3 separate regions of the Homo sapiens genome follow, and regions 2 and 3 are each linked to region 1. The links are contacts of gene promoters, found by promoter capture Hi-C in blood cells and fetal thymus (Javierre and others, 2016). All regions are on one chromosome and are shown on one strand. The core of a region is centred on a gene start or on the middle of the fragment in contact, and the rest is flanking DNA. Distances in the headings are between cores, read along the strand shown.

Evidence for each region. The method cuts DNA at HindIII sites, captures the fragments that hold promoters and counts their contacts. A CHiCAGO score of 5 or more calls a contact.
Region 2: a fragment that was not itself captured here is called in contact with the fragment with the promoter of FANK1 in region 1 in 1 of 17 cell types (naive CD8 T cells); the score reaches 5.0 in naive CD8 T cells.
Region 3: a contact is called between a fragment that was not itself captured here and the fragment with the promoter of FANK1 in region 1, in 1 of 17 cell types (M2 macrophages). The highest score is 5.6, in M2 macrophages.

The regions. Positions count from the first base shown.
Region 1 is chr10:125,894,867-125,898,256 of GRCh38, reverse strand. It overlaps FANK1 (fibronectin type III and ankyrin repeat domains 1), which reads right to left and starts at 1,693. Exons shown (of 11, transcript NM_145235.5): 1 at 1,602-1,693. The coding sequence starts at 1,614. It also overlaps a transcript of DHX32 not described here. RefSeq lists silencers at 1,123-1,417, 1,509-1,648, 1,809-1,888, 2,109-2,188. The HindIII fragment of the contact is 2,086 bases long and covers 601-2,686 here.
Region 2 is chr10:127,850,764-127,854,153 of GRCh38, reverse strand. No RefSeq gene overlaps it. Among named protein-coding and RNA genes, the nearest start is that of CLRN3, 40 kb to the left of the region's middle. RefSeq lists a silencer at 1-64. The HindIII fragment of the contact is 5,917 bases long and covers 1-3,390 here.
Region 3 is chr10:126,901,535-126,904,924 of GRCh38, reverse strand. LOC105378550 (a long non-coding RNA gene) reads left to right here. Exons shown (of 2, transcript XR_946449.3): 1 at 1-365; 2 at 483-3,390. Among named protein-coding and RNA genes, the nearest start is that of DOCK1, 2.2 kb to the left of the region's middle. The HindIII fragment of the contact is 1,573 bases long and covers 1,052-2,624 here.

The sequences.
Region 1 (3,390 bases), core at 444-2,943:
TGAAATTATAGTTTACACATGAAAACAGTAACATAAATCTGAAGAAATAAAGTTCTTTTTTTTGTTTTTTCGAGATGGAGTCTCGCTCTGTCACCAGGCTGGAGTGCAGCGGTGCAATCTGGCCTCACTGCAACCTCCGCCTCCCGGGTTCAAGCGATTCCCCTGCCTCGGCCTCAGCGTCCCAAATAGCTAGGACTCCAGGCACGCGCCACCACACCTGGCTTTTTTTTTTTTTTTTTTTTTTTTTTTTTTTTTTTTGTATTTTAGTAGAGATGGGTTTCACTATGCTGGCCAAGATGGTCTCAATCTCCTGACCTCGTGATCCGCCTGCCTCAGCCTCCCAAAGTGCTGGGATTACAGGCGTGAGCCACCGGGCCAGGCCAAGTTGCTGTTTTTAAAAGGTATATTTCAACTCACTTCTCTAAGGCGGGAATATACACAGCCTGCCATCAGTTTGACATAAAACAAAAATTTTAGCGTTCTTGTATGCTAAATTTCTTTTACTAGGTTAAAAAAATGTAGAATCCAAAGAGCTGTAAATGCAAATGACAAATACTGTACAAAATCTATCAAGCAACTATAAGTCACAACTTGCAAGCTTTCTCCTCAGCAAATGAGTTAAAAGGAAAAGTATTTGAAACTTTCTTGGTGGAAAACGAATGACCTTTAAAAATGCCAACATTTTCCCCAGAGAATAGATTTGGTCTGAGTTCTTCATTTCTGAAATTGTACAAGATAAGACGACTTGGTTTGAGAGTCAAACTGCATCCTTCTATAAAGGTTTTAGATAAATTTTAAGTCTCCATACAAAACACTCCCCTTATTTTGAGAACAAAAGGAACAATAAGACAGCTTAGGCGGGGCAGAGAAAGAAAGGCCTTGAAACAAAGTCCCTGGAAAGGTAAAAACAACAACAAAAATAGTAAGTTAGAGCTCGTGTTTAGATCTGATAACTCAAAACTGCACAACTTTTGCCATACATCGAAAGCAACATGGGAAAACAGAAAAAGAGATTACAAACATTTTTTGAGTGTCCTAACTTGTAGAACCCCTAAGAATGAATCAAATACACTTGGACAAAGCTCTTCTTTTCTCTCTCTCTCCTTCAAGTCGCAGACTAGGGGTGTGGGGCGGGGGGCGGGGAGTAAGACGGGGTCTCTAATAAATACAAGACCCAGCCTCGGACGTGTTTAATTGCTGACATTTTAGAAGAAAAATGGGCTACTTACAATTAATGAACCAAACTACCAAACTAAAATCATGAGTAGGAGGAGGAGTAAATGGAACCGTCCGGGCGAAGTTTCAGGAAGACGCACGCTGGGGTCGCTGCGCCCTTCCCCACCCATACCTCGGGGCTCTCCAGTCGCTCCCAGCCCCCAGCGCGGACTCTAGGGCGCCGGCGGCCCAACCATACAGACTTGGCAGGATGTAGCCCCCTTCTCCCCTCTCCAGGAGAGAAAAGCGCGAGGAGACGCAAACCGTATTTCCGTGTCCGAGCGTTGAAACCTGCGGAGTCGCGCGCGGGGCGCCCACACTCGTTCCCGGGGAGCCCCAGCCCGGTCGCCCGCCCCGGTCCCAGCTCCAGCCCGGGCCTCCCTTACTCTGGGGCTCCATGGTCGGCTGCTCCCCGGCCTCCGCGGGCGAACCCCCGGACTCCTAACGCCTCTCAGCCAGGGCCGGCGTCGCTACGGTTGCCCTGACAACCCGGAGGCGAAGTGGGCAGAACTAAAGGGACGGCGAGCGGGAGGGACCAAAAGCCGCAGGAAGTGAGGGAGCGCGTGAGGACCCGCGCGTCGCCGGGGACACTGAGCGAGGGTAGCGGCCAGGTCACCGGCTGAGGACACTGCTCCTGAAGCCCGGTCAGGCGGTCGCGCCCTCCCTGGCGGCCCCCGCGGCCCCGCAGGACCTGTGCCCCGACGTCGCCGACCCGCGGTCCCCGCTGTCGCCGACCCGCGGCGTCCGTCGGGCGAGTGGGCCTGCCCGCGGGTAAGGCGCCGGCCCTGGGCCGCCCTCCCGGGAATCGGGAGCCGCCGCTGCAGGTAACAGCGGGGCCCCGGCGGCGGAAGGGGTCGGGGGTCGGCGCAGGGGCGGGCGCGCCCCGAGCCGGGTGGGCGGCCCCGGCGCACCTGTTGTAGCCGCCTGGGGGTCCCCTGCCCGCAGTTGGCCGTGGACGTTCCCCGCCCCGACTCCGAAACGCCGAGGGCGGCCTCCGCGCCTCCTGCTCCGGGAGCCGCGCCTCAGCGGGAGGACGGAGCCCTGCGGGCAGCCCTCGCACCAGGGGCTCCCTCCGAGCCCGGGCATGGGCCGGGCCTGGGGCGGTCCCTCGAGCCCCCCTGACGGGAAGCGTGGAGCAATGCGAGCCGCCGCCGTCGTCGCTGTCGTCCCCAGTGAGCCTGGCGCGTCTCCTGAATCGCGAGAGCCAGGAGCACGGTTTTGCCCGGCTTTGCCCCGTCATCCCCGTGTCCCATTTCAGGCAGGGGGCCCGGGTTGGATCTTTCTCGCTGGCTTCGTTTTTTGTGTGTTGATTTGTTTCAGTCCTTCGCGTTTCCGGTTGAGTTACGGAATCTGCCCACACGTTTTGTGGCCAAACTTTGTAGGGCTGTGAAACAATGTAACATTATCCCACACAATAGTCTTTCATACTGGTTTTAAAACACAGTGATTCAGGGTTTGCTTTAAGGAAGCTTTGAGGATCACAAGAGATTATTATCTGGTAGGTTGTAAAAATTCAAACAACCAGGAGAGTATCATAGGTTCCGGAACACCAGAAGGAGGAAAGAAAAATGGAGACGAGAGAAAAAGGATAAGCAAGAAAGTGCAGGGGCATTAAGGGTGTGGGGGGCTGCAGGATTGATTTGGTATTCAGGTCTGGAGATTATGGCCCCTCTATTAATTCCAACCGCTGCTCCAGACAGTACTTGAGGGAAATGGAAGGAAGAGCCGTTTTGGGGGTCATGGAAGTGATTACTAATCTTGCCAGTAGAAAGATTTCCACTCCATGGATGACAAGGACACTAAGGAGAATTACTTTCCTCTTAGGGAATCATTGAGAGGTTAATTGAACTTGAGAAGCATATATTCTGTGATGGAAACTGACATTTATTATATTCTTCCAAATTAGGTTTTCCCCCTCTCAGACTATATGGGGACTTTTTCAGATTAATTGTCAAAACAAGAAGGTTTATGTGTGGATATTGACAAGCAGCGTGATATATACAGAACACATAATTCTTAAGCTGAAGTATTAAGGTAATAAATTAAGGGTGGAAAGTAAACACTTCATGGAACCTTAACTCCCTGTTCCTGAAATTTAGAGACAGGGGCTTCATTTTTAGACAGAAAGTATAAAGATCAGCAGTACTCCTGTATCCAGTGGTTCTCAAGTTCTAG
Region 2 (3,390 bases), core at 284-2,783, 2.0 Mb before region 1:
GTGCAACGCCAGAGCTCTGCGCCCTGGGCACCGCCGCTTCCCGAAGGCTGCAGGACTGGGGAAGGCTTGTGCCACCAGGACCTGAGCACTCAGCAGGAGTGTCAGGCCTCTGGGCCTGGGTCAGAGCTGATGGAGAGACCGTTCCAGCATGTGAGACGCTGGAGGGAACTGAAACCCACCTGCTGCACATGCATACTTCCCCGGTGGTTTTGGAAATGCTCTTGTTGTCAAAGATGTCCCTTCACACGGGGCTCTGCCTTCCCCACTGCCCTCCTGCACAGGCACAGCACATGTGTGCACACTAAGACTTCCAGGAATCTGTCCATCTAGCTGAACTGATTTTTCCCCCCAATTTATTCGACATTAGGATCTTTCGTGCGAGCCCGCGTGTGTGTCTAAACTTAGCCACATCAGGAAGCTGACACTGGTAAGTGATGACTTAACATTGTGGGAGATGTCCTTCTACACACCTGTGGGTTCCATGGATTCAGCCAACTTCGGATTAAAAAACAGTTTTATGTTTCTTTGTTTTTTTTTGTTTTTTGTTTTTTTTGACGGGTTTTGTTCTGTCACCCAGGCTGGAGTGCAGTGGTGTGATCACGGCTTACTGCATCCTAGACCTCTGGGTCATGCAATCCTCCTGACTCAGCCTCCCGTGTAGCTGAGGTCACTGGTGCCCGACCCCACATCCAGCGTTTTTTTTTTTTTTTTGTAGAGATGGGGTCTTACTTTGTCTCCCAGGCTAGTCTCCAACTCCTAGGGTCTAGTGACCCAGCCTCCCAAAATGCTGGGATTATAGGCGTAAGCCACTGCACCCTGCCAGGATAAAAAATACTTTAAAAAACAATAAAAATCACAATACAACAATGAAAAATAATACCAATTCTAAAAAGACAGTATAACAACCATTTACTTGGCATTTGCATTGTATTAGATATATATAAGTAATCTAGAGATGATTTAAAGTACACAAGAGGATTGTGTAAGTTCTATGCAAATACGACACTATTTTATATCAGGGACTTGAGCATCTGCAGATTTTGTTACCATGGGGGTCTTGGAACCAATCCCCCTCGGATACCAAGGAATGACTGCATATATATATATATTTTAAGTTGGGATTCTTGTTCATTTTCAAACCATCTTTGCTAATATGGCAGTTGGCTTCCCTGGGCAGGAGGGAGCATGCCATGTGCAGACAGCATGCCCCTCCCCTACACAGGAAAGAGGGCCTGTGTGCACGGAACTGCATCCGTCTCTAAGGGGAGAGCGGGGCTCCTGGATCCTAGACACTCTGACACAGCATCCATCACACTTGTGGGCCGGTTTGCTTCTCCTGATCTCTAAGTCTCTCTCAGGCTCCCTCTTGTCCGGGGACACTGTGACAAAAGCAGCTGGAATGTTCAGGATTAACAAGACAGTCTTATTTAAGAAACAGATGCAGAGCACCCTGAAACCCCTGGCAGTGCCCGCGTTGCCATGGCTTTTCCACTCAGCGTGGAAGACCATGAGTCGTGCATCTCCCTGCTGGACCATGGCTTCTGGAGATGGAGGATGGCAGGGCCAGGTGTGATGTTGTCCTCCTGTCCAGCTCCTCCTGCATTGTAGGATGTCTGTCATAACCTGGTCTTAGAAGCCAAGAAGAAATGCAAACCTGTCCCAATAGGCCTCGCTTTGGCAACAGCCAGTGAACAGGTAGATTAACGTCACCACTCAGGCCATTTGGTCACCTGCTCACCAAGGTGCCACCACCACTGACACCAGGCTTATGAGGGTTTCCATCCCCATTTATGATGCTACCAGGAAGCTGATTTTAGCCACAGCCATTTAAAAAAACAAAACCTGTTGTGTCCTTGTAGATCCAAAGTGTTGGAAATCTTCCCTTTTTCCCCCAGCCTCGCCCACCTACCATTTCAATGTAACCTCCCAAATTCTTCCACAGAGCATTGTTGAAGGCTCTGAGAATCTTTCAACCTCCTCCACAAAGCCCTCCAGGGCCCCCGTCACAGCATTCCCTTGGCATTTTATTTGTGGCTCTTGGACACCGTTGTCCCCACCCTTCATGACAGGCCGGGGACTCCTGGCACTGGATCCTTTTTGCGTAAAGTAAGCTGATTGAATTAAGCACGCATCACTGAAATGCTTTGCTTTCCATGGAACCACACTGCCTCTGAATGAGAATCTGCTGCTCTTTAAATGCTCACCGACCCGCCGTCAACGAGCTGTTGTGAGGTTCTACCAGGAATCGGAGGCGTTATGCACAGACCTCCTTTCCAGCCTCTCCTCCCTGCCCCTTGTGGTCAATGCTGCTTTGGATGCTCCCATTTCCTGGGGGCCCGGAGATCCCGCTCACCTAGAGGGGATGGGCCCTGCTGGCTCTTCTCTGTGTCCTGCCTGGCCCTGCCATCCTCCTTCTAGCTGCAGAAGAGGGGAGTCTGGGGACTAGGGCCTGCCTCCTTCCCCTGGGGCACAGCTTCTGCCAGGCACAGCGCCATCCCCCAGGTCACACCAGTTCTTGGATGTCCCCATCAAAGCCTCTTGTTCCTCCTCTGGAAAAACTCTAAGTGGAAATTATAAAAAGTTCTCCAGAAGGTCTAGTCAGAAAAGTCTTGAAAAGACGAGCGGTCCCTAGAACTCCAGGCCAACCCCAATCTCTCTGACCTCCCTCCTCTTGTCCTCTTCCCTAAAACCACAGCCTCTCCCCTCTACTGGCACCTCTTGTCCCCATGAAGCATCCTCTGGGCCCCTCCTCAAGGCAAACACATCAAGGAGTTGCCTGGGGCACCTGCCTTCTTCTCTGCTGTTCCACCCCACTGGGTGGCACCCGATGTGCTCCTGCTTTCAGCTGCCCTTCCCGCAGACGCTGCTCCTGCACAAGGCTCCAGGGGCCTCCCAGTCACAGCCTCTCCCCAGGCAGTGCCAGCTCCACCTCACCTGACCTCTCGGGCCCAGACCCATCCCTCTGCCTTGGCCTCCTCTGGCCCGAGCCGCCCAGCACTTTGCCCAGGTGGCCTTCCTGGCACCCTGCCTCTCCCTCCTTCTCCACGGTTGGACCCGAGCTTCACTGCTAGTCGCAGCCCATGGGGTGCTGCCTGGGGTGGCCGCTCTGGAGGCCCTGGCTGTCCCTCTTGGTCTTTCACTATGGGCCCCCCACCCTGAGACAAGTGACCTCCCACCCAGGGGAGGCTGGTCCCTCCTCCTAGCCAAGTCCCACTGTTGTCTTGTGGCCAGAAAAGGAAAGGAAGTGGCCCCCAAGTCAGCAGTGGGGGTTTATGGACCACATTTGTAATTAACTTGAAAAACAACGCATGAGCTGAACGCCTGGTCTGGTGCTTGTCCTGGGTTTTGAATGTTCTCTTCACCTGTCTCAGAGAGTGACATTTATACAAA
Region 3 (3,390 bases), core at 589-3,088, 1.0 Mb before region 1:
CACTCATTGCCCGAGTGTGCTGGGAGCGCCGCACCAACTGCCTGGTAGGTGGGAGAAGGGACACGTCAGGTAACAAACAGCACAGGTAAGTGCCGGCCACTCAAATGGGGTGGAAAGAGGTGGCACAGCGCTGCCGAGGGAGTGCGTTCCAGACAGGTGACCTCTTGCTTGGGTGCTGAATGAGTGGAGTTTTCCAGAGAGACCAAGAGGAAGCAGCCGCAGAAACCTCAGCCCAGCTGGGCTTGCAGAAGCTAATGCTAGAATAGTTGTGGGACTCAGGATCTGCTGAAGTCGGGGGAAGAGAGAAGTAGGGAAAGGAAAGCCCAGGCCACGCGTGGGGCTCAGGAACGGCATCCTCGCCCGAGGTGGGAGTTCTTCTCAGGCCCTGGTGTTTCCCATGACAGTAAAAGGTGGGGGCTTCAGATTTCTCCAAGGGAAAAGTTAAAGCAACACACACCTATTTATTTTTACTGTAATTTCAGAAAAGAGAGGTTAAAACCAAGACATGGACAAAGCCTCCGAATGAAGGCAGCCCTTTAAATGGAATAAATTTGGTTTCATGGCACATTAATGGGGTGTCTTCTCTCCGAAGACACAGAGACAACTACAGTAGGTCTGGGGGCCGTCAGGGATTGGAGGAACGAAGGTAAGAAAAGGAAGAAGGTAAGAAAAAGAGGTCCCTACCTCTGTGAGGTAGGGACAGTGCTGAACAGCAGGGCTGGGAGAGCCCACAGGGAGGTGGCCAGGATGGCCACAGGGCCTGGGGAGGACCAGGTGGGGCACCATCCTGCGGTAGAGAATGCCCGTCACCTGCCCTAGGGGCCACCCAGAATGCAGATTAAATAAGTATTTGGGAATGGCACAGGAGCTTTTCCATTTTCGTGGGTTAGAGGAAAGCTGCTGCGTTCAAGAGGATAACGTGGGACCTGAGCATTCTGGTAAGTCAACCCCACATTCATGGAAAGCCACGGGCTCTGTTTTACTGATAAGGAACTGAAGTCCCACAGAGGAAGTGGCCAGGCTCACTCACACACAGCATGCACTTGAAGCTTTCTGTGGAAATCAGAAACCTCCGGGGCTCAGGCGCTGTAGTGGTGGCCTGGTGACTCTGACCCCTTGAAGGAGAAGCATCTGTGAAGGTGCTGTCCAGGACAAGTAGGGTGCTCTACGGTAAAGGACATGGTGGCCTGACCTGCTCCAGAGCAGGGAGGCCTCCCTTGAGGAAATAAGATAAACCCAGACTTTAAGGATAAGCAGAAACCAGCTAGGTGAACTGGAGTGGGAACAGCACGTGAAAAGGCCCTGGTTTAGGAAGGAGCACCACTCCTTCAGAGCACAGAAAGGCCAGGATGGCCGAAGCATAGGGAACAACAGGAAAGTGACATAAATTGAGGCTGCAGAGGTAGAAGAAGGGCCTTATTGGTCGTGCTAGGAATTTGGAATTCTGCAAAGAAGCCTGGGAAACAGATTTTGGTGACACTCGCCTTCTCTTTAATGTGCAGTTTCAGTTCTGTTGGTGTGATTCTGCATTGGAGATGGCGTGCTGTAACGAATGGCCAGGAGCTTAAGAGTCATGCAGACTTGGGAGGCCTGGCCTTGCCACGCCCAGCTGCATGGCCATCCTCCTCCTGTTTCTGGCCGTTCTGTTTCTAAACCTTGGGGTTCTGATATTCCTACATGTAAACTAGGGGCTGTAATAGGAATCTCACAGGTGAGTCTTAGGATTATAAGAGGAGACATGACTGCATGTGTAAGACATCATAATGATGTGCTTCCTCATCTGACCCTACCTCCAGGTTCTTTGATAACCTCATGGTTCCCATTTTCTAGAACAGTTGCCACTTGCACTCAGATAAAGGTGACTCACTGAATGCATAAATAAGTGTAGTGCCGGATTTGCATACTTTTGGTAGACTGTCATATAATAAATTTATAAATCAGAATTTTAAAACTCCAGGTGGGGCCGGGCACAGTGGCCCATGCTTGTAATCCCAGCCAGCATTTTGGGAGGCTGAGGCAGGCAGATCACTTGAGGTCAGGAGCTCGAGGTCAGCCTGGCCAACCAGGGTTTTAGTAGAAACCCTGTCTGTACTAAAAATACAAAAATTAGCTGGGCGTGGGTGCGCATACCTGTAGTCCCAGCTACTCAGGAGGCTGAGGCAGGAGAATTGTTTGAACCCAGGAGGTGGAGATTGCAGTGAAGCAAGATCGCACCGCTGCACTCCTGCCTGGGTGACAGAGTGAGACTCCATCTCAAAAACAAACAAAACAAAACTCCAGGTGGACCACGGGCCAGGTGGTTGTAGCTTCAGTCCCTTGATTGCAACATGTGCCCAAGTTTGGCTGAGATGTACCTGTAGCCACGGTCCTTGAAGCCCTGAGAAGATTTGTCAGCATCCCCACGGTGCTCCAGCAGTGCTCTCATCTTGTGGCTCTAAATCGAGTCCATGGCCCTCTCTCACTGTCCTATGGTTGCATAAGCTCAGAACTGGCTTCGTCTCCAATTCCAGGAGCCCTGGAGGTTGTGGCCTGTTGACATTTTTACCTCCTGAGTCAATGTGGCTGGGCCACAGGTCTCAGTTGCCCTCCCAGGCATCTTGCAGGACTTGGATCTGTGCCAAGCTTGTGGGTGTGAACAAGCCCAAGAATGCTGAGGCTCTCAGTTGCTCAGTGCTGCCCATCACTGGGATTTCAGAGTAGTGACCCCCCTCCTCCAAGATACAACAGAATCTTGCTTTGGGGCCATGAAGAACACAATCAATATTACAGTTTTAAATCTTGAAAAGTACAGTTTTAATTTTTTTAATTCCAAAAAATTTCACACATGTGCACTGCAAATTCAGGAGGTAAATTCAGCAAAATCTTGCCTGGTGGAGGTACCAGAAGGCACAGTGAGTCAATGGGGCATGTTTCTCAGTCGGTGGGGAGAGATGAGAATGGAACAGGGATGTGGAGATTTTATGCAGGAAAAGGGGCCTGACCACAGATTTTTTGCCCTTTGAAAGGAGAGGAACAAGGCCTATGCCCACTGCCTCTTGGATTCAGTGGGAGATCTGGGCATCATACTGGATGACCAGGCATGTAGTCACAATGCACAATGCCACCCAGCCCAAAAGTGTATATTCAAGACTTTAGACCCAACTTCGTGCTTACAGGAAATAGAGGAGGTTGAGGAACAAGTGACACCATAAGAAATACAGTGAAACAGGCCAGGCACCGTGGCTCATGCCTGTAACTCTGAGCACTTTGGGAGGCCGAGATGGGCAGATCACCTGAGGTCAGGAGTTCAAGACTAGTCTGGCCAACGTGGTGAAACCCCATCTCTACTAAAAAAAAATATCTGGGCATGGTGGCAGGCACCTGTAATCCCAGCTACTCAAGAGGCTGAGG